2 separate regions of the Homo sapiens genome follow, and region 2 is linked to region 1. The links are contacts of gene promoters, found by promoter capture Hi-C in blood cells and fetal thymus (Javierre and others, 2016). All regions are on one chromosome and are shown on one strand. Each heading gives the region's core, a stretch centred on a gene start or on the middle of the fragment in contact. The rest is flanking DNA. Distances are from core to core; before and after follow the strand shown. Region 1 holds the start of CCDC88A (coiled-coil domain containing 88A). Region 2 overlaps EML6 (EMAP like 6).

Evidence for each region. Contacts are between HindIII fragments. The CHiCAGO score rates a contact against its expected background, and 5 or more counts as called.
Region 2: a contact is called between a fragment that was not itself captured here and the fragment with the promoter of CCDC88A in region 1, in 1 of 17 cell types (fetal thymus). The highest score is 5.1, in fetal thymus.

What each region holds. Positions count from the first base shown.
Region 1 is chr2:55,418,472-55,421,171 of GRCh38, forward strand. It overlaps CCDC88A (coiled-coil domain containing 88A), which reads right to left and starts at 1,385. Exons shown (of 33, transcript NM_001365480.1): 1 at 546-1,385; 2 at 345-445. The coding sequence starts at 608. RefSeq lists silencers at 1,286-1,355, 1,386-1,435, 1,496-1,785. The HindIII fragment of the contact is 14,096 bases long and covers 1-2,700 here.
Region 2 is chr2:54,759,369-54,762,068 of GRCh38, forward strand. The region is part of intron 2 of EML6 (EMAP like 6); the gene reads left to right. Among named protein-coding and RNA genes, the nearest start is that of EML6-AS1, 9.7 kb to the left of the region's middle. The HindIII fragment of the contact is 1,147 bases long and covers 874-2,020 here.

The DNA.
Region 1 (2,700 bases), core at 135-2,634:
TCTTTTTTCCTCTCTTAGGAAACCAGATTCTCATTTTCTCTCTTATTTTACCAAATTATCAAAGAATACACAATGTGGCTTGGATTTCAGTACTGAAGACAAGTGACAATACATGGTTGACAGAATGAAAAACTAAAGTTTCACAATTTTAACAGGTAAAATATCTAGGTTGTGATAATGGGCTGAGCCCATAACATTAGCATTCCTTTCAAGATCCAATTCTTAAACCACCTGAATATTTCTGGCCAATGAACCAAATTAGGGGCTTAAAACATCGTGTCTCAAAGTTCACCATATGCTATTTCTCAAAGAAAACGTTACCTAGGAAAGAAGGAAGAACTTACATTTGGAGCATGACCTGGTTCAAGAATACCCCATCCACCAAAGCCACATATTCATCAAGGTTGGTCCCATTTCCTGCGGCCAGAGGTCCAAACGTTTTAACCTAGAACAAACAGAAGGATCACCACGACATGAACGCCCACCTCCATCTCTGCAGCCACAAATAACTCAGCAAAATATACAATAAAGGACACCCCACTTACCCAAGTGACCAAAGGGCTGGTCATGAACTGCTCCAGAAGGGGAGTAAAAATTTCGTTCTCCATTTTACAGAGTATGTATTTGAAAAAAGGAACTACCACAAAAATACGCCTAGGGAATTGGTCACTAAACGTGGAAGTAAGTAGAAATCAATGAAAGTCCATTTCGGCAAGGGAGAAAAATCCCATCGTGGAGGAGGGGGGCACTCTCCCTCCTCAAAAAACACCCCAGAGTGAAACGAGCCGAAATCCCAAGAAGTGGCTTCGACGACGGACACCACGAGCAGCAGCCTGCGCTGGAAATGTCTGTACCGGGCGAGGAGGGGCAGAGAAAAGGCATCTGGAGGAGGAGGAAGGGAAAGGGGGCTGGAACCCAAGACAAAAAGCCCGTCAAGGTTGTCCAGCTCCTGGAGGATCCAGACCAGCGAAACTGCTCCCAATGAATCAATCCCAACGGGGGCTAAATGAAATACGTTAAACAGAGACCACGTTAAGGATACCGAGGCGCCACCAGACTCGACCTCGGCGTTCCGACCTCTACACGTTCCACCCACCGATGGGCATGGAGCCGCTTTCGACCCGCGGAGCCTCCACTGCCCGCAGCCCCTCAGTACCAACAGGCAGGGCTCGCCCCTTCCCCCCGAGCAGACACCATTCCTCCGCCGCCCTCAAGCCTCGCCTCCAGCCCCCTTCCCCTCCCGGGGGTGGGGGCTTGAATGTGTGTCCCTAACCCCCCAGCTTCCTAAGCCCTGCCAGCCTTTCAGCGCGTCTCTGGGAATCCCTGGCACAAAATCACCGCCGCGCTCCAGCCTTCTCCGCCCTCTATGGAGAAGCCGGAGTAACGGCCTCAGAACCGCAGTGCCGCATCACACCCCACCCCTCGCCGCCCGCCAGCGCCGCCCGCCAATGCCGGGGGCCGCCGTCAAAGGGAGCGCGCTGCTCCCTCCGCGCCGATATCCTTCCGCCGACTCCCCGCCCCTCCCGTGCAGCTGCCTCTGGATTGTGGGAGAAGAAAACCGCTGCATGAGCGCGCTCCCGAGCGAGCGCGCCCCCGGGCTAGCCTCGCCGCCGCCCAGATCCTGGCGGCGGGCGCGGGCTCGGGCGTGGGCGCGCGCTCGCTGCAGCTGCTGCGGAGACAACCCGCTCCTCGGTTGCGCCCAGGACGGTTGCCTGGTGGGCGGGGACAGGGAAGGCAGAGCAAGGGGTCTGTCTGCTCGCTCGCTCATGCCTAATTATGGTTTATTTCCTCCCCGAGTGACTTCTTTGATACGTGAAGGAAGGGGAAAGAAATCCTTCTCTTATAAACATGAGGGATGCAGACAGCCTTTTTCGGACAGTTTGATGTGTTCTGTAAAGCATGCCTTCTCCCCAGCAAAATGGAATAGGAAAACTCACTGCAGCAAATGGCAGAGGGACTTGAGCCACAACTTGGTGGGGGTTTTTTTCTCCTTTTTGTTTTCTTCCAAATGCAGTCCACTAACGCATGAATGTTCTTCAAAGTTGCAAGTGACATACAGTAAGATTTTTTAAAAACCAGAGCTGTCTGTCAGCACGTTGGTATTCCCTGACTGGAGCAAACATGACTCAGACATTGTTTTTTGGTTTTGTTTTGTTTTTTACTATTTGGGCATGGGTCGGGGGAAACCCAAGCAAAATCAAGAGCTACAAAGAAGAAACATTTAGAAGTCATCCAAGTTGGGTGACAAATAAACAGATTACATATTTGTCATAAATCTCCATGCCACGTACGACTGGGACCTTGAAATAATTTTAAGTTCCCTGGCAAAATCAAATGCTACTCCTCATTTCAAAGGAAAATAAAGACCTTTTTCCCGGGGTAAAATGGGCATATAGAACGCAATCTTTTTTTGATAAAAGATAATATTATAGTTTTATAATGTGTGCTATGTTTACATTACATAAATATTTACACGGAGTATATATTTTAAATTAGCAGTAAAAATGTTTTTGTCATAACACAGTTAAGAAAGAGCAGAATTTCTTAATTGGGTAGTTGAGAACCTGGACTCTGAAGTCTTCCTGCCTGGTTCCAATATGCACCAGCTGTGTGAGCCTACGCACGTTATTGAGTCTCTTTGTGCTTCGATTCCGTCACGTGTAAAGCAGGGCTAATAATAGGGTTAAATGAAATGGCAGC
Region 2 (2,700 bases), core at 197-2,696, 660 kb before region 1:
CTGGAGTATTTTATGGTAATACTAGAAAGAATAGTGGTGGTAACTATTATAAGATCATGGGGGAAGTGCTAAAATGAGTCACTTATTTTGGAAATAGCAATAATATTATTTGCTAATATTTATTGAATGCTGACTAAACGCATAGTAACTTTATTCATTTAAGGAGCTTTTAAAGGTTTTATAGAGTTTTTAAAAGTCATAAATTCAGACATAAATTAGCAATGGATGCCAAATCTGGGGGAGAGAGAAAAACTTTAAAAACTCTAAAAACTTTACATGTACCAACTCATTTAAATCTAAAGAAAAGTTGGATTTATACCAACACATCTTCATCACCAAGCTAGCATGTGAATGCTCAGGAGAGAGCATGCAGAATCTGCTCAAAATGGAGACATTTTAACTATATCCCAATGTTAGGCTGTGCTAAGGTGATCCAAGAGTGAAGTTCGAGGTTGGACAAAATTAGATGTAATTAATAGTTGAGGAAACTTCCTTCCCTCCATATATATATATATAAAATCTTTGTTTACATATAATATATATTTATATATATTTTAATGATTAAGTGTAGGTGAGAAATAAGATAACTTGCTCTAGATATCAGCAGGATCATTATACACAGCAGGATCAAGACTCCGGCTCCGATTCTGGGCCATTACTCTGATGCATTAAGAATGTTAGTAATTTAAATAGCCTAACTTCCAGTTTTTCTCAGTTTCCACTATTTTGTAGTCAAATTGATCTTGGTCTTAGATTTATTTAGTGTTTGACTCGATCCATATTTTTAATCATTGAAAATTAATTTTTAACTACTTAAGTAATACATGAATAAGTTTTCTTTTTTTTTTTTTAATTTTAGAACATTCCAAATGAAGCTTTCATTTCCTGTCCTGGTCTCCCTCCATGCTCCCCAGATATTCACTACTGCTATGAGTTTGGTATATATTTTTCAGATCTTTATATTCACGTACTACCCAAGAACATAACAGAGTATTGCTTTATGCATGTGCTTGATTTCTTTACATAAATTCCCCTATTGACAGACTTCTAGGTTCTTTTGCTTTTCAAACAGTGTTTCAGTGAATCCTTGCACACATGGGAGAGTGGCCCTCTAGGGAGATATCTAGAGGTGGACTTGGTTAGTCACAGGTATGCCCATTTTCAGTTTCAATATAGCCTAGAATTGCAGTACCTAGAGGCAGCAGGCTTGCAGAGTACCTGTTTCCCTACCATCTGGCCGGTATATGACACTATCAAATTCAATTTGTTTTGCCAAATGTAATTTTATCTGGGTTTTCTTTCTTATATGAAGAAGTAAGTTTCTATCTTTCCCTTATACAAACAAACCTTGACAGAGAATCACTGCTTTTGTCCTGGAATTCGGAAGATTTCAAAGATGGGAGGTGTACATGAGATCCATTCTCTCTCCCCATTGCTTTGAAGTTGAGGGAGCATTTTTTTTTTTTTTTTTTTTTTTACTAGAAAAAGAATCTGGGACAGACTGAAAGATGGAAGTTACTCTGTGTCTGGGAAATACAAACCTCCTGAATCTAGAAGCATGAGGCTTAGTATGATGAATGGTGACCAATAATGTTTTTATTAATCTGGGAAGTACTGAGTTTGGTAATCAGTATCTTTGAGGTTTATGCTAGTGAAGTTAATCCCAAGGCATTTGAGAAACTAGATTTCAGCTTCTCTGCTTTATGGTTTTAATTCCACTTTATTCTTAGTGGTAGTGCAGCCAAATGATAATAACTCTCATCATTGTTGAGAAATTGTTTTCCATATGGTTATTTCATCTGAGAATATGATTTTAAACAGACTACCAAAGTCATAGTACTCCCAGTTTGTGGAACGGACTTGTTTAATGTTATAAACTTGAATTTTGCAGTTTTGTGAACCAAAAAATATGATAATAAACAATACGCTTTGTTTCTTTTTTATTAATGCTTAACTGAAAAAAAAGCATAAATGAAGGTGCTTATTTTTATTAATTGGGGAAATACCAGGGATTAAACAAAGCTTAGTCCTTCAGTGTTTATAATTTCTGGTAAGAAAGTTGAATAAGGTATTTCCCCTTTTCAGAGCAGCTTACTAGTTTTATCTGAGGTATATAATATGTGAATGTAATTAAATTATCAAATTTGGTTGATCATTTAAAAAATCACAAAGGCATAAAAGTGGACATTTATGAATCACATTGCAATTTGGTCAAAAGTGATTCTTTCACTAACATAAATCATAAACTCTGTGGATATAGCTTGACTTTAATTTGTCTGAATTATGATATGGAAATGTTTAAAATGGTCAAAAATAGTTGAGGTACCTATGCTTTAAGTTTAAAATATAAGTCTATTTAAACTTATTTTGGAATCATTTCAAACTTGTAGAAAAATAGCAAGAATAGTCCACAGATTTCATCCATTTTTAGTATTTTGACACATTTTCTTTGTTATTCTTTCTCTTTATAGATACGCATTAGTATTGCTTTTTTTTTTGGAATCACTTGAAAGTAGGTTGAATGCATCATTCCCTTTTACCCTTAATACTAAAACATGTAATTTTAAGAATAAGGATAGTCACTTGTATAACCACAGTATGGTTATTAAATTCAGGAAATTTAATGTTGACACAATACTGTTATCTGCTCTATATTCTTCTTTAGTCAGTAATGCCAATAATTGCCTTTAGGGCAATTTT